Regions from separate parts of the Homo sapiens genome. Here regions 1, 2, 3, 4 and 6 are each linked to region 5. The links are contacts of gene promoters, found by promoter capture Hi-C in blood cells and fetal thymus (Javierre and others, 2016). All regions are on one chromosome and are shown on one strand. Each heading gives the region's core, a stretch centred on a gene start or on the middle of the fragment in contact. The rest is flanking DNA. Distances are from core to core; before and after follow the strand shown. Region 1 overlaps CFAP298-TCP10L (CFAP298-TCP10L readthrough). Region 2 holds the start of MIS18A (MIS18 kinetochore protein A). Region 3 overlaps TIAM1 (TIAM Rac1 associated GEF 1). Region 4 overlaps TIAM1 (TIAM Rac1 associated GEF 1). Region 5 holds the start of SOD1 (superoxide dismutase 1). Region 6 has its middle 61 kb from the start of KRTAP19-8.

Region 1 (2,700 bases), core at 120-2,619, 940 kb after region 5:
CCGAGCCAATAAGATTAAAATATTTGTACCAGTAGTTTAAATCTTTCGGATTCACTGTACATTTTTATCAGTTTGAAGGGAAATAACAAAAACTACTGACACATTAAAGCAAAAAGTACTTACTTGCTGAATCTTGGCGATAATTTTGGTTTTTTCATTCTTCCCCACGTAGTCTGAAAGCTTCTTCGTTCTTCTCAGCTCCTTGGCTGCCCACCACAGCTGCGCCTCTGCCTCTTTAATGACGTTGAGCCCTGCCTGGGGCCAGTCGTAAGAATGGCTTGACTGTGTGTTCCCACCCAGGGGGCAGAGCCCAGCTGAGCCCCTCCCAGCAGGGGGCAGGGGACAGATTTCTCCCCGTGCTCACCATGGGAGGCCTGACTCCCGCACCTCACTCTAAGTCCTTGCTGACTTTAGTACCTTCCCTGTTAAGTTTCCACTCATGCCCTGACTCAGTTAACTTCCTCCTCTGGACAACAGGGAGATCCTATCTCATTTGCACCTTGATCCATATAGTTCGTCTTAGACAGATCTGTAGGCCACTGCCAGGGAAGGGCACTGGCATCGTGCTGGGTGTTTAAATCGAGGTATAAAGGGGCTGCCTGTTTACTTCTGCATATTTCATTTATTTAACATGGCTTAGACAAAGAATATTGTCCAATAGGATAAGAAGTGAGAAAACCCAAGGAAAATGGAACATGAGGGTCAGAAAATAACATGAAGCAACAGGTAAGACTAGAAACACAAATTTCCATGCAAAGGGACTGACGCATTTGGGTAGAAATAGGAAGAAATTAGGTAGCTGGCTTCCTAGCAGCCAAAGACAGTGGAAATGTTTGCAGTCACTCCTGATGAGCGGCCTCACAAACTGCGTCCACTGCCTCCTGTGTGTGGGGCCAAACCCCTCACTCATGAGTACCCACTCTCAGGGGCTGCTCCTGAATTCAGAACTCTGCTCTGAAGCAGGGCATAGCAAACCTGAAAGCTGTGTAGGGAGCAAAACACTACATCCAGAAGAGGGGCATCAAATCTTAAGGGCTTTGGGGGCCAGGAACTCAACCTCCAGAGTACCCACTCACAAACTACGTACCTGTGTTCCCGACAAGTCTTCCTTATTTTCAAACTCCATGCGGATGGGATCATACGGTGGCAACCCCATGGGGTAAACAATCATCACCGCGCCTCGAAGCTGGTCCAAGGCATCTTTCACCATCTCCATGGTAACACAGACACCGGCTTCCACTTGTTTCTGCAAGCAGAAAGCCATCGTTATCTACAGTGTGGCTAATCACTTCCATAAATTCGATCAAGATCTTGTACAAGACCCTTGCCAGATACTGCCAGAGCAACAAAAAGAAATCAAACAGTTCTTGCTCCCAGAGTGACTACCATCTATTTCAGGGGCTGAGCGAAGCACACCGTGGCCTGTATTATAAAGCAGACGGTGAGCAGCACTGAGCATGGAGTACAATGAAGTGCAAAGAATTCTCAAAGGAGAAAGAGCCCAATGCTGGCAGCACAGATGGCAGTGAGGATCGGGAGATACGGCAGGGGGAGCAGGCACCGCAGGTGGGCCTCGAAATGCAGATGGGCTGAAAAGGTACAGATGGCAGCAGGTGCTTCAGGACAAGCTGAAACAAAGAAAAGCAGGCGCCAGCCCCCTCAGCATGGGGCAGGAAGGAGAGAAGATGAGGCCAGCTCTAGCTGGATCAGCTGAAGTTTGTTTTTGAATGGCCACAAAAGCCAGGCTGAAGAGTTCACCTTTCCTCTGTTAGGCCACGGGAAGCGACTGCCTTTTCTGGGAAGGAGTGGTAATGTTGAGAGATTTATCTTGTAGCTGATATAGAACAGACCTAGTTGGCCAGATGTGGTGGCTCACACCTTATGTAATCCCAGCACTTTGGGAGGCCGAGGTGGGCAAATCACCTGAGGTCAGCAGTTCGAGACCAGCCTGGCCAACATGGCAAAGCCCTGTCTCTACTAAAAATACAAAAATTAGCTGGGCGTGGTGGCAGGTGCCTGTAGTCCCAGCTACTCAGCAGGCTGAGGCAGGACAATTGCTTGAGCCTGGGAGGCAGAGGTTGGAGTAAGCCAAAATCGTGCCACTGCACTCCAGCTTGGGCAACAGAATAAGACTCTGCCTCAAAAAAAAGAACAGACCTAGTTGGAGGGAGACCAGGTAGCAGGCTCTGAAGAGTACAGAGGAAGGTGTGATGAAATAACAAATATATCTGGTCTTTGCTACTCAGTTCCAGGCACAGAGCTCCAAAACTCTTGGAATTTCCTGAGTGACAGGAGTGTCTTGTTATTTATAACGAGCCCCTTCTCACCATACCTGAGCTTGTGCTAATACAGTAACCTGTAGTCCGCGCTGGGTTTCAAGGAAGGGGCTGGCCGTGCCTGGGAGACCAAGCACATAATTAGAGGGTTGGAGCTTTCGGCCTCACTCCCTTCCTCCACCTCCAGGCGCTAGAGGTTGGGATCAAACACGTGGCCAGTGGTTTAAGCCATCATGCCTACTGAACAAAAACGCTATAAAAATCCCAGACATCATGGCTCAGTGAAGCTTCCTGATTGGTGAAGACGTTGATGTGCCGGGTGACACACATCAGTGGGGGCGTTGTGGGAAGCTCCAAATTTGTAGTCAAGCTGGACACAAGTATGGGTGGCCTGGGGACCTCACGTGCAGCTGGTGTCTGAAAT
Region 2 (2,706 bases), core at 201-2,700, 620 kb after region 5:
GGGGAGTAATAGTACTGGCTGCACCTCAAGTGCTTACAGTCTAGTTGACCATTTGTTTCTCTTTTTTTAGGGTCTTTAAAAGTGTTATTCTTTGTCGCCCTTTGTTTCTGAGTAATGCTCACGATGATGCTGATTCAACCACTGCTCTTCTGGGATCGGGGACCCCAGAAAAGAACCCACCGCCCGAGAGCCAAAGTGGAGGGGTGACCCTCCTCCCCTTTTCCTGCCACAGCTCACACTCTCAGACTTTTTGCTCTTAAAGTCCCTGGGCAGCCCCAAGGAGCCCCCGCCTCCTCCCGGGCCGCCCACGCGCGGCACCCCTGGAAGAAGGCGACCCCACGCCCCCCCTGCCCGGCTCGACCCAACTGACAGCGAAGCAGGATGCAGTTGGTGTCCTCCTGGCTGGCCACCCAGCTCAGCGAGTCGCCCAGCGGCCGCCGGCAGCCGGAGCACAGGAACACCAGCGGCCTCTCCTCCGCAGCCGCCGCCTCCTCCTCCAGCTGCGCCCTCTCCATGTCGGCCACCGACGCGTCTTCGCTCATGGAGCTCCACATGCTCGCCCACTTCTGCAACAGCTGGTGGCGGCTCGAGTCTTCGGAGAGTCTCTTGCCCAACAGCGAGGAGTCGCTGCATTTGCCCTTGTCGCCGCACTCACAGCCGCCAGCGCATCCTCTGCTACACCTCAGTGACCGAACGCCTGCCATTACCTACAAATCGCCCGCGCCCCAGAGCGCCATGGGAAAAAAAACCGCCGCTGCTCATGCGCGGGGCGGGGAGCGGTGGCGGAGGCCGAGAAGGGGCAAAAGCCTGAAGGGGGCGGGACGGCGGGCGGCCTCTAGTGCGCATGCGCGCCGTGCGGCCTTGGCCAAGCGTGATAGTCACTGCGCCTGCGTCAGGTTTTCCAGCCTGAAGAAATTGATGATGCAGACCTGTTTGCTTGTCTTCCTAAGGATTATTCACCCCTTTCCGTGGGAGGGGCAGCGTCACTGAGAAAGTTACGGGTTGCAAGCTTGAGTGTCTAAGAACCGCCTGGCGAGCTTCTTAAGCAGATCGCCAGGTTCCATCTTCGCAGACTCTGGTTCAGCAGGTAGCAGGTTAGCCCGAGAATCTGCATTTCTAACAAGCTCCTAGGCGTGCCCACGCTGTCAGTATTGGCAGCCCAACCTTTTTTGGGGGGTGGGGGGGGGAGTTTTTCTATGTTGCCGGTCTCGAACTCCTAGCCTTAAGCGATCTTCCCTACTCGGCCTCCCAAAATGCCAGGATCGCAAGCGTAAGCCACTGTGCCAGACCACCACCCTTTTTCTTCTTTTTTGTAAGTGGACTAATTATAGTTGTATATAAGCAGCTCCACTTTTGATGACCACTGCTCTATTTTGTCGGCTCCTGGGGACCTCCTTTCCATGAAGTGGAGAAGGAAGGGGATAGAGGAGTCCCTCATCACAGGGTCCTTTTGCGCACTGCTATCCCTGGAATGAGACCCTGGGAAGGGCCCCGGATCACTCAGGCTGTCACTGCAAGGAAAAAGTTGAGGAAGCAGCAGTGCCCCTGGAAAGCCTGGAAGTGTCCCTGCTGCTTGGATCAAGGAACAATTCGTCCTTGCAAGGAAGAAGCATCCCTTGTTGATGATAAGGACAGATTTCCTCAGCTGCCCCAGAAAGCCAGCCTCTGCCTAAAACACCGTAGGTCAGGAGGGAAAGCTGGCGGGGAACCAGCCAGCTGCACCACAGACAGTCTGGTGGTATACCTGGGAAGAAAGCTACCTGCAAGGACCTACTCTGTTCCTACTACGCTCTGGGTGTCCCCCAAGTCACTGCCTATTTTGCTTGGTTGCATAAACTATTTATGTAAATGTACTTCCAATTTTAGTGCTTACAGCCACTAGCAAAAAGCAAAAGCTTTGGAGTCAGTGGTCCTGGTTAACTTACCCCTCCCTCCACAAGGTAGTAACAGTGTAGGGAACTGTGGAAAAGGCTGTTTGCCTTCCCTGAGTCTAATTCTTCATGGAGTAAATGGAGTCTGTTTCTTCAGTACTACACCAAGTTGTTCATGAGGATCGAGTTTTCTAATATTCATGAAAATACTTTGTAAACCCTGGCACACCATGCTCATGTTAATCACCTTCTTACTGGAAGAAAATGCTTTAGATAATTTAGGCTTTTTTTTTTTACCCATAGAATTCCCTTCCTTCCTTCTGCTTTTTTTTTTCTTTTCTTTATTTTTTCAGAGATGATGTTTCAGTATGTTGCCCAGGCTGGTCTCGAACTCCTGGCCTCAAGCGATCCTCCTGCCTCAGCCTCCCAAGTAGCTGGAACTACAGGCATGCCTCACCATACTTTGCCCCTTCTACTTTTGTAGAGCCAAGCCTGACCTTCCTGGACTGTTGTTTTCAAGCATAATATCTCTGGTACAACATTGATACAATCCACATGAGTTCTTTAAGTAAGTGGCTAGTTACTTGGGGATTCAAAGGATCATCTTGTCTCAGACTTTGGGTTCCTATTGTCAATACTTAAATTCTATGATAGGATGCCCCAGGAAAGAAGGAATACAAGGCCGAGCTGCGTGGTGACTTTCAGGGGCCCTATTTTTGCCTTAGTAGGCCTTTCTCTCCATAAAACAGTTAATAAAAATTTCATTTTATAGTCACATTGCTATGAAGATGATTATATTAAAATGATATCATAAAACATTTTTAGACCTGTAAGT
Region 3 (2,702 bases), core at 10-2,509, 520 kb before region 5:
TTTCATTTAGTGTTTGTGAGATGTTGGTGGCTACGGCAGGAAGACCGATTCAAGTAACTGCAATTAACTTTATTTTTAATCAATTGGGTCTTGAAAAAGAAATGTTCTTGTTTTGAAAACTAAGCTAGACTTTTCCCCCTCCATAAAACGCTTTTCTGATACACACCGAATGCTGCCAACTCTGGTTCCTTTTTCCACTTGCCCAGCGAGGCCGGCGGGTTCAGCCAGATCACGGTAGTGTGCAAAAGCAGGTCTCCCATGCTCAGATCTGCAACCTGAAAGCCAGAGACGTGACAAAGCTTACTGGGTGGTGTTATCAATACTCAGATTTTCATGATGTTTGAAAATTCAGCATGCTGATATTAATTTTACTTCAAGAAAATACTGCTCCTAAAAACATTTGCTTAAATATGTGAGATAATGCTAAGTTAAACTGCTGGATTTAGCCATTCCACAATGTAACATATCAAAACATCATGTTGTACACCATAAATATATAAAATTTTTACTTGTCAATTTCATGTTTTTGAGAAAAGAAATCGCACCAAAATGACAGACTACATTTTTTAAAAATATTTTCGATTTGTGACTGTCTCAATAAACACCACCTCCCATCAAAACAGGCTGAAGATACAATATCCAGTTAACCTTTCCAATGGGAAATAATAGTATCATTATGTTCTAGCCAAGTTTGAGCTAGGAACAATACAATGAAATTTTAACGAAAAAAAAAATCCTTTAATTCATATGAAATCTCCTAATTGAAAAATAAATCCTCTCCATTCCCAAAGAAACACATGGAATACAGGGGAGAGAAAAGGCTCATCTTTTTTTTCCCCATTTATTCCATGCTTGTCTACTAGAATTTCAGAAAAGGATGGCAAATAGGTACAAACTGGGGCTCTGAAATTCACATGCAGTTAGTCTGTCAAAACTGATCTACAAAACTGGAGATGTTTTGTGTTCAGAGACAGTTTCCCAAGGAGATGCTAATGGCCGTCCATGACAAAGATCCACCCCCAGATAACTGCAGACATTTCCACCAGTGAATATCCACTTTTGGGAAATGTAGGCAAATTATTTCTTCTTCCAATCCATTTCAAAGACGACTTTATTTCACTTTAGATGAGGGAGAGAGAAGCCAATAAAGAGTTTGAAGATTCCTCTATTGGCACAGGCAGCGTGAATGCTGGAATCCCAAGAGACCATGAGGTTTAGTCGCTCACCCCCAGCGGTCACACGCTAAACTGTCTCCGACAGACAAGTGCTGGTTGCAGAGCCATCTAGACACGATGATCCAGAGAGTCTGATGCAAGTTCAACGTCTATGCCTCACAACAGTCCCGTCTGCTTTTCTCACTGCAGTCACTGGCCTCCTTCCAAATCTAGCTGGGTTTCCTATACAGCAGCAACCTGGCGACCCGCCACTGAACACAGTGCAGTTTGGATTGCCCTTCTCGAGCCACCAAAACAGGCTACCGTGCTGAGATGTGGCTCCAGCAGTACAGGATACAGAGGTATTGTTGCCTCCCTTGATTGAAATTATTATAATCATCACTGTCATTATTACTAAGCTATAGTACCATTAGTACAATCAAGGGTTAAAATAATTTTTAAGCAGCCATATTATTTTGTCTATAGATATTAAGTAACTCATCAACCAAACCCCCAGGATATGATCAGCCAAGGTAATGACATAGTCTCCACTACCTATCCCCCGAAGACCCACATAGAAGAGGAGGAGTTACATACAAAAGACAAATTCCCAGAGGCCACAGCCCCTGGGAGTACGTCTTTAAAAGTGATTAAAGGCCAACATGGTAGACTGTCCAAACTCTACTTCTTCCAACAGAATTACATTATCTGCACCTTCTGCCATGTGATTTTCCAGCACCTCCCACTAGACTAGGCAGGGTACACACATCGCCGCCCGGATGACTTTGGGTGTAGGCATGTGACTTAGAGCCCACCTTCCAGCCATGGGAAGGACTTGCCCAAGACAGCCATTGCTGCTTCAGCCTGGATCCTGGAAGGAAGAGACAAGGAGCACACCAGAACCTTCAGAACTGGAGCTAACCAAGAGAAACCAAACCTTGGTTGACCTACAAAGCCACATACGAGATAAATATCTGTTGTAGAGAACCACTGAGATTTCCAGTTATTTGTTACACAACTGAAAATGGGCTGATGCTGTTCCTGTGCACAGGGTTTTTCTCTGGACAAGCTTCCCAGGGCAAGTGGACTAGGGGGTCAGGGTGCTCCCTCTGGCCACAGCCTCTCTCTGGGGCTTCCACTGGTTCCCTTCTGAATCCTCCTCCCAAACCCCAAGAAAGAGTTCTGCTGGGAGGCCTCCACCTTACTAAGGACTGGGATGCCCGACTGAGTCAGCATTTTTAAGGACTTCTTTTAAGGGGAAATGCCCTCTTGCATTCTTCTTCCTCCTAGTTAAGCAAAAGGGATTTCTTAGCCTAACTCCCCAGAGTTTAACATGGGGGTAGGAGGTTGAAGGCCCAGTTTCATCAAAAAGCTGTTTCTTTGCCAGCTTTGTTCTCTGTGAACCTATTTGCCTTCAGAGATATCTTAAGGAATGTTGGTTGAAGACCCAATTCAGGTACCTTGTGTTCCTAGAATGTTACCATTTTACAATAAACCTGCTGTTACCAGCAGATACTGATAAATGTTCCTATTCCTCTTTACAAACTT
Region 4 (2,700 bases), core at 113-2,612, 540 kb before region 5:
GTGGAGTGATTCAAGAGCTCAGTCAGGCCAGTCAGAGCTCTGCACTTCACCCCAATATTTTCACAGGAACCCCCCCAGCCTGCTCCCATCGGGATAGGCAGGAGACTGGAAAAGAAACAGTGCCCAGTAGGGGCAACGTTAGGTCAAGATGCCATGCAACTGTAATGCACCTTTTGTTGTTGTTAAAACTTCAAGCGCTACAACAGCGTTCTCCTGATGATCACGAGTTATTTCAATAAATGGCATTCCCAGGAATCTTCTCCCACGGCCGCTCTCCCGCCAACAATTCATACTCATCCTCCCATCCAAAAAGGCATAGAACCGCCCAGACACTTTTCGTTATTTTTATTGTTTGACAAGCATTTACAACGTTCCATTCATAGACCTAAAAACATAAAAATAGACCTTCTTTCAGCTTATAAAAGAAATATATAAGAACTTTTGACATAGACACGTCATGACCTTATGTACAAGAGACAATGGCACCCTCTCCAAGCACCAGACTTCCGAGTGTTTTCAGATGGATGTGTTGCACTGGAGCCAGTAAATGCGACGATTAGAAGCCTCTGCTTCCGTTTTCCATCTGGACGCGATCGAACCGGAGATGATATGGAAAAATGCAGTGATACAAAGGGTATAGAAACCATTCTAAAGCTTTTTCAGAAAACCAGAAGATATAGCAAAAATTTAATAGAATAAAACTTTCAAAAGATCAAGCTCGAAGCCCTGGAAACCCGAAAGGCGGGGGGAATACAGGGTGGGAACGCAGGAAAAGCAGGCAGAGGCACAAGAGCATGATGTACTGAACTCTCTATTGTCTGGAAATATAAAGTCATAACTGATTTTTATAAAATATAACTCCTAAAGCTACTATAAAATTCAGGTCTTTAAAGTACCTACTGATGTGTCAAACACCAAATAGATATTTTCCCCAAAAAGAAAGTTTTCATAGTATTTTAAACCCTTCTTAGGAAGTGGACATTGTGACATGGGAAAAGAAAAAGCTATAAACCTTTTTTTAAAAAAAAAAAAAAAATTGAAAGTGCTATAACTTGTTTTTCTTCTTAGTATTTGGATATCTGTTTAGACTGTTAATGTTTTGAGCATGTTTACCCTGTTTCGTTGGCATGAAGAAAGTGTTAAACACAAGAGAAGTTTTTAAAGAGGTTGTTCTGTTTAAAGGTTTGGTTATGGACTGTCAGGGAAGGGGAAGGTAATCTATGGATGAAGATGCAATTTTGATGGAAAAACCAATGATCACCATGGCAACCCCATGAGAAGGAGGCTCCCCTCCCTGCCATGTGCAACAGACACACACACCGCCCACCGGGGTGTCATGTTTAATCCAACCAAACTCCCATCTCAAATATAGATTCAAACATTAAAAAAAAAAAATCCGCTTTTTGGAAGAAAAGTATATCCTTCGCATGAGCTTGCTGGCCTTTCATATATAAATATAAAACCACCACGCCTCACTCTCTCTGTAAAAGGTTATATCCTCATTTTTTAGGCTCAGGGATACATACACTAACACTGTAAAATTCTCATCTATTTGTGCCCCTGTATCTCAGGTAAAATACAAAAAATAGTGTTTCTTTTCTTTCTCTCAAGCGATAAATTTGGATCTCTTTTCAAAGAGTTTGGCATCTCTATAATTCTATGCAAAACTAGAGCTTCCGAACATGGACACAGAGTAAGACCAGCCATAGACCAAAACAGGAAGGAAAAAAAAAAAGAGGCTCATTGAAACATGAATCGCCACCCTCTCCTCACACATTCTTAAAATACACGGAGATTCTCAGACATGGAAGAGGGAAGGGTACAGTCAGAACACGGCAAGCTGTACACATTTCATTTTGTGTGTGAAAGAGGTTTCCCCAGCTAGGAGACTGATTTCAGATAGAAGGATCGTGTGTGTGCTACTATCCCTTAAATTAATCTGTTGTACATCCGTTAACTCCTGGGGTGATTTGCTTTCCAGTGCTATAGAATCTTTTTTCTTTTAATTGTTCAGGCCCTGATTTATTGAGAATAAATAAAAGCCCTTAGTAATATACAGAAGATAGGACTCAAGCTTATTTGGGATTCTGATCAATTCTTTCTGATGTTGTTGAAAATGACAAAGTTGGGTGGCTACATGGCTTCAGAACCAAGTCAGCTGCCAAAACCGTGTGTGCAAGAGCGCGACCTAAGGGGACATTCTTGTCGACGGTACAGGAGGGTGGGCAGAGTTAGGGCAGGAAGTATCTACACACATTCTCTACGGGGCAGGTGACGCAGTCAGATCTCAGTGTTCAGTTTCCTGGAGGGGGCAAAGTCTTCACGCCTAACCCAAATGACTTCCTCGCTTGCGCTCTCCAGGCCTCCATTGATCCCCGACAGGGCAGCTTGCTTCTTGAGCTGTGCCATGCGGGACGCGTGACTATCCAGGGTTTTCCGGCCTCTTTCCCGCTGACTGATGGAGGTGGCCTGAAGCCGCTCCTGCAGGTCTCTGTCCACTGAGGCACCCTTCACGGACTCACAGAACTCATCATCGTCACTGAGGATGTCTGTCTCCTTGATGTCATCTTGCTCCTCATACTGAGCAAGATCAAACTGCTCCTCTACCCATCGGTCAGTGTCCCCACCACCGGGGGGCTGCTGGGACTCTTTCTCCGGGCTGCTTGCGGAGACGGCATCAGAATCAATGGTAAACCTGTT
Region 5 (2,732 bases), core at 226-2,725:
GCCGAACTTCCTGGAACCCAAAGAAACTTTAGCCTTGGGCAAAGGCCCTTTGGCCAGCATTTGCACTGTTTATGCAACCGTTTAGAATATACGAATTATCTGGAGACTACTACCAAATACAACAGGCAAAACTGCAAATATGTATACTTCCTAGAGGATGATAAAAAAATGTGAATTGTATTTCTCTGATAGAGGATGCATTAGAGTCTGAGGGTCTAAATAGCGTAAATAATAAATAAGTAAATAAATCGATAGTAGTGTACTCCAAACGAGGCTGGAATAGCTTCTATTGTTGTTTCACACTGGACTTCAATTAAGTCTCAGTATTTTGCCATACTCAATATTAAGTACTAGGCTGGACGTGGTGGCTCATGTCTGTAATCCCAGCACTTTGGGAGGCCGAGGTGGGTAGATGGCTGGCTTGAGCTCAGGAGTTTGAAACCAGCCTGGGCAACATGGTAAAACCCCATCTGTACCCAAAATACAAAAATCAGCCAGGTGTGGTGGCACATGCCTGTGGTCCCAGGTACTTGGGAGGCTGAGGCAGGAGGATGGCTTGAACCCAGGAGGTGGAGGCTGCAGTGAGCTATGATGGCGCCACTGCACTCCAGCCTGGGTGACAGAGCGAGACCCTGTCTCAAAAATCAAACAAACAACCCCCTCGCCCCGGACAAAAGTAGTTTGCACTATTTTCTCATTTCACAATATGTTTTTGAAATATTTCCCTTGAAAGGTAAGTCATATTTATCATTCCTGTTGTATGGAGGCATCATAAATTATTTCACCATTCTACCCTCCTTGAGTGTTGTGGCCTTTAGGCCAGACAAAAACGCAGGTGATGCCTAGAAGCCAACTAGTTGCCGTTTGGTTATCTGTAGGGTTGTGGCCTTGCCAAACAGGAAAAATATAAAAAGAATACCGAATTCTGCCAACCAAATAAGAAACTCTATACTAAGGACTAAGAAAATTGCAGGGGAAGAAAAGGTAAGTCCCGGGATTGAGGTGTAGCGACTTTCTATACCCTCAGAAAACTAAAAAACAAGACAAAAAAATGAAAACTACAAAAGCATCCATCTTGGGGCGTCCCAATTGCTGAGTAACAAATGAGACGCTGTGGCCAAACTCAGTCATAACTAATGACATTTCTAGACAAAGTGACTTCAGATTTTCAAAGCGTACCCTGTTTACATCATTTTGCCAATTTCGCGTACTGCAACCGGCGGGCCACGCCCCCGTGAAAAGAAGGTTGTTTTCTCCACATTTCGGGGTTCTGGACGTTTCCCGGCTGCGGGGCGGGGGGAGTCTCCGGCGCACGCGGCCCCTTGGCCCCGCCCCCAGTCATTCCCGGCCACTCGCGACCCGAGGCTGCCGCAGGGGGCGGGCTGAGCGCGTGCGAGGCGATTGGTTTGGGGCCAGAGTGGGCGAGGCGCGGAGGTCTGGCCTATAAAGTAGTCGCGGAGACGGGGTGCTGGTTTGCGTCGTAGTCTCCTGCAGCGTCTGGGGTTTCCGTTGCAGTCCTCGGAACCAGGACCTCGGCGTGGCCTAGCGAGTTATGGCGACGAAGGCCGTGTGCGTGCTGAAGGGCGACGGCCCAGTGCAGGGCATCATCAATTTCGAGCAGAAGGCAAGGGCTGGGACGGAGGCTTGTTTGCGAGGCCGCTCCCACCCGCTCGTCCCCCCGCGCACCTTTGCTAGGAGCGGGTCGCCCGCCAGGCCTCGGGGCCGCCCTGGTCCAGCGCCCGGTCCCGGCCCGTGCCGCCCGGTCGGTGCCTTCGCCCCCAGCGGTGCGGTGCCCAAGTGCTGAGTCACCGGGCGGGCCCGGGCGCGGGGCGTGGGACCGAGGCCGCCGCGGGGCTGGGCCTGCGCGTGGCGGGAGCGCGGGGAGGGATTGCCGCGGGCCGGGGAGGGGCGGGGGCGGGCGTGCTGCCCTCTGTGGTCCTTGGGCCGCCGCCGCGGGTCTGTCGTGGTGCCTGGAGCGGCTGTGCTCGTCCCTTGCTTGGCCGTGTTCTCGTTCCTGAGGGTCCCGCGGACACCGAGTGGCGCAGTGCCAGGCCCAGCCCGGGGATGGCGACTGCGCCTGGGCCCGCCTGGTGTCTTCGCATCCCTCTCCGCTTTCCGGCTTCAGCGCTCTAGGTCAGGGAGTCTTCGCTTTTGTACAGCTCTAAGGCTAGGAATGGTTTTTATATTTTTAAAAGGCTTTGGAAAACAAAAATACGCAACAGAGACCGTTTGTGTGACACTTTGCAGGGAAGTTTGCTGGCCTCTGTTCTAGGTCATGATTGGGCTGCAAGGGCAGAGAAGGTAGCCTTGAACAGAGGTCCTTTTCCTCCTCCTAAGCTCCGGGAGCCAGAGGTTTAACTGACCCTTTTGGGGATTTTTGAGGGCAGTGATCTTAACTTTGGGTGCACAGTTAGCTTATTTGAAGATCTTACTAAAAATACACCAGAGCCCAACCTCCGACCAATTACATCAAAACCTGTCCTAGTGCAGGGTGAGTATTGCTGTTTTTTGAAAGTTTCCAAAAGTGATTTTGATGTGCACCTACGATTGAGAACTGTCGTTTGAGGACAGTGGGTGGAGTTTCGTATTTGGAAATTAGAAGACCTGGAGTTTCCATTACACCGAATTGGCACTTAATAACTGTTGTCGGAGCATTTCTTAAGCCACATTTTCGTAAAGTGGCTTTAAAATTGCTCTGCCAGTAGGCAGGTTGCTAAGATGGTCAGAGACAA
Region 6 (2,700 bases), core at 164-2,663, 560 kb before region 5:
CGAGTAGCTGGGATTATAGGTGCCCACCATCACGCCTAGCTAATTTTTGTATTTTAGTAGAAATGGGGTTTTGCCGTGTTGGCCAGGCTGGTCTCGAACTCCTGACCTCAAGTGATCCGCCCTCCTCAGTCTCCCAAATTGCTGGGATTACAGGCGTGAGCTACTGCACCCGGCCTAAATTTTACAGGAAGCAGGACTCAGTGATGGATTGGATGTGGACTACAGAGAGAGATGACTAGTTTTCCAGCCTGAGCAACCTGAGAGAAGGTGAGGCCATTTACTGAGATGACGGAAGAAGATAAAGTGAAGGTGGAAATGATAAGTTCAGTTTGGGACATATTGGCCTTGAGGGGCTTTGTAAATTTTCAGGTTCTGAGGCTCCAGTGGTGGCAGCAGCAATCACCCGTGGCCTTGTGTGTGGCACCCAGCATCTGTTCTAATTCCATCCATCACCAGCTGATTCTCATTTCCCAAGCCTTTGTTCAGGCTATCGAACTCCAGGGATCTGAGTTACCCTCTCCTATTCCTAAACACTGTCCCCAGCCAAACCCCACTTAACCTAATTACTAGGCATGTGAGCCTGGGCAAACCGCTTCACTGCTCTAGGCCTCGGTTCCTCATCTGTAAAATGAGAGGGTTACAAAATATGACGTCCAAGGGTCCTTCTACGTCCATTCTGGTTCTAAATAAAATGCGGCACTTTGCTGATCCACCGCGAGAGGGCACCAGAGAAACGTCCTCGCACAGGACCGCGCTGAAAGTGCCCCGAACCAGCCAGGCACGGTACCAGGCGGGATGCTGTGAGGGAGGTGGAAATAAGGTGGAACGCCATCCTTCCGCATCCTTCCGCATCCTTCCTACTCGGGCAAACCCTTAGATCTGGGAAAAACGTTCGATAAGCAGCAACCGCAGCCAACATTCTATTTATCCCCTTTATTTCTTTATCAAGACAAAAATCATTCTCCGGCTCTTCACTGCCAGAACCTGTTCGTTAAATGCACGAATTTTCAAGGTAAATTAGATCCAACTGGCACATTACAATCACCTGGATGCTCTTAAATACACCGATGCTCCGCTCCCAACCCAGAGCAGCGTGAGGGGCCACAGCCCTCCCTTTAGCTAAAAGATGAACTTGGGACAGATTCCTGCTTGGGACGGGTTCCTGCTCATCTCCCACTCCTGGACCCCGGAAACTCACAGCCTGGTTGCTAAGTCAGATTTAACTCCTTTGTGGACATTGCCAAAAAAGCTTGAGACGATCCTACAGGTCTCCAGCAGGGAGCACGGGGGTACACGTCATACCCTCAAAGCTGGGTCGGCAAAAAGCCCTTGATGCGTGGCGAGCTTGCTCTGTTATCCTTACTACGAGAAGCAGAGTGGCATCTTGCTCCTTGGATTTCTAGCATACAGTCCTGTTATGATAGCTAATCGATAAACTGTCTGGCTTGGAAATGCACGGTCTTCCAGTCTTTCCCTCTGTGTGCGGTCTAATCCCGGTCATGAACACGAAACACAAAAGCTGCTGTTTGTGGTGTGAGCCACACCTTCCTCCCTCACCTCTAAGATGGTGAGAAAAGATAAGCTTATCCGCCCAATTCATCTGACAGGGTTTGGGAGGACCAGATACATGTATAGGTACATGTTCTGAAGTGTATAATACAAATGCAATCTCCAGGTGGAATTATTTTAAAGGTGTGATTAATTTTACTGTTGATAATATAATTATACAAGGGTGTCATTGTTTTCAAGGTAACGTTCACATCACAGTGTTTTATTTACAATAGCTAAAATGTAAATGATCTAAATATCCAACATTATCAAATATCAAGTTGAGACCCTCCCTTTGTTAGCAAGTATTTGAGGACCTATAGCGTGTTAGTCTGTTTTTGCATTGCTATAAAGGAATATCTTGGCCAGGCTCAGTGGCCCACACCTGTAATCCCAGCATTTTGGGAGGCCAAGGTGGGCGGATCACGAGGTCAGGAGTTCAAGACCAGCCTGGCCAATATGGTGAAACCCTGTCTCTACTAAAAATACAAAAATTAGCTGGGCATGTGGCGCATACCTATAGTCCTAGCTACTTGGCAGGCTGAGGCAGAAGAATCGCTTGAACCCAGAAGGCAGAGGTTGCAGTGAGCCGAGATCATGCTACTGCACTCCAGCCTGGGTGACAGAGTGAGACTCTGTCTCAAAAAACAAAAACAAAAAAGAAAAAGAAAAGGAATACTTGAGGCTGGTAATTTATAATAAAAGAGGTTTAATTGGCTCATGGTTCTGCAGGTTGTACAAGCATGGCTCCAGCGTCTGCCTCTGGTGAGGCCTCAGGAAGCTTCTAATCATGGCAGATGGCGAAGGGAGAGAAGGTGATGTCACATGGCAAGATCCAGGGTTGCCGGGAGGTTCCAGACTTTTATACAACCAGGTCTCACGTGAACTCACCGAGCAAGAACTCACTTATCACCTGGGGATGGTGCGAAGCCATTCACGAGAGACCTGCCCCCGTGATCAAATCACCCCCACCAGGCCTCACCTCCAGTACTGAGAATCACATTTCAACATGAGATTTGGAGGGGGCACACGTCCAAACTCTATCATTTGGTGTGTCATCCCAAAGGGAATCTTTGTAACCATTAAAAAGTATGTTATAGGAAGATGCTTAATGATAAGGGGAACTACTCATGATGGATAATAAATGAAGGC

What was found. The method cuts DNA at HindIII sites, captures the fragments that hold promoters and counts their contacts. A CHiCAGO score of 5 or more calls a contact.
Region 1: a contact is called between a fragment that was not itself captured here and the fragment with the promoter of SOD1 in region 5, in 1 of 17 cell types (total B cells). The highest score is 5.4, in total B cells.
Region 2: a fragment that was not itself captured here is called in contact with the fragment with the promoter of SOD1 in region 5 in 4 of 17 cell types (M0 macrophages, total B cells, naive B cells and 1 more); the score reaches 5.8 in M0 macrophages.
Region 3: a contact is called between a fragment that was not itself captured here and the fragment with the promoter of SOD1 in region 5, in 5 of 17 cell types (activated CD4 T cells, total CD4 T cells, naive CD4 T cells and 2 more). The highest score is 11.1, in activated CD4 T cells.
Region 4: a contact is called between a fragment that was not itself captured here and the fragment with the promoter of SOD1 in region 5, in 10 of 17 cell types (activated CD4 T cells, non-activated CD4 T cells, naive CD4 T cells and 7 more). The highest score is 10.8, in activated CD4 T cells.
Region 6: a contact is called between a fragment that was not itself captured here and the fragment with the promoter of SOD1 in region 5, in 6 of 17 cell types (fetal thymus, activated CD4 T cells, non-activated CD4 T cells and 3 more). The highest score is 10.6, in fetal thymus.

Annotation. Positions count from the first base shown.
Region 1 is chr21:32,603,038-32,605,737 of GRCh38, forward strand. CFAP298-TCP10L (CFAP298-TCP10L readthrough) reads right to left here. Exons shown (of 12, transcript NR_146639.2): 4 at 1,088-1,246; 5 at 124-255. It overlaps CFAP298 (cilia and flagella associated protein 298), which reads right to left. Exons shown (of 7, transcript NM_021254.4): 4 at 1,088-1,246; 5 at 124-255. Among named protein-coding and RNA genes, the nearest start is that of CFAP298, 8.0 kb to the right of the region's middle. RefSeq lists a silencer at 1,442-1,736. The HindIII fragment of the contact is 2,383 bases long and covers 179-2,561 here.
Region 2 is chr21:32,278,311-32,281,016 of GRCh38, forward strand. It overlaps MIS18A (MIS18 kinetochore protein A), which reads right to left and starts at 739. Exons shown (of 5, transcript NM_018944.3): 1 at 371-739. The coding sequence starts at 704. It overlaps MIS18A-AS1 (MIS18A antisense RNA 1), which reads left to right and starts at 895. Exons shown (of 1, transcript NR_046576.1): 1 at 895-2,689. RefSeq lists enhancers at 1-489, 490-989, 933-1,152. The HindIII fragment of the contact is 886 bases long and covers 1,008-1,893 here.
Region 3 is chr21:31,135,767-31,138,468 of GRCh38, forward strand. TIAM1 (TIAM Rac1 associated GEF 1) reads right to left here. Exons shown (of 28, transcript NM_001353694.2): 23 at 167-275. Among named protein-coding and RNA genes, the nearest start is that of KRTAP19-8, 99 kb to the left of the region's middle. RefSeq lists an enhancer at 1,301-1,350. The HindIII fragment of the contact is 1,924 bases long and covers 298-2,221 here.
Region 4 is chr21:31,118,088-31,120,787 of GRCh38, forward strand. It overlaps TIAM1 (TIAM Rac1 associated GEF 1), which reads right to left. Exons shown (of 28, transcript NM_001353694.2): 28 at 331-2,700. The coding sequence ends at 2,281. Among named protein-coding and RNA genes, the nearest start is that of KRTAP19-8, 81 kb to the left of the region's middle. The HindIII fragment of the contact is 1,420 bases long and covers 653-2,072 here.
Region 5 is chr21:31,658,218-31,660,949 of GRCh38, forward strand. It overlaps SOD1 (superoxide dismutase 1), which reads left to right and starts at 1,476. Exons shown (of 5, transcript NM_000454.5): 1 at 1,476-1,624. The coding sequence starts at 1,553. It overlaps SOD1-DT (SOD1 divergent transcript), which reads right to left and starts at 1,807. Exons shown (of 3, transcript NR_187558.1): 1 at 1,180-1,807. RefSeq lists silencers at 1,089-1,408, 1,679-1,958 and an enhancer at 2,119-2,318. The HindIII fragment of the contact is 11,893 bases long and covers 1-2,732 here.
Region 6 is chr21:31,098,012-31,100,711 of GRCh38, forward strand. No RefSeq gene overlaps it. Among named protein-coding and RNA genes, the nearest start is that of KRTAP19-8, 61 kb to the left of the region's middle. The HindIII fragment of the contact is 333 bases long and covers 1,248-1,580 here.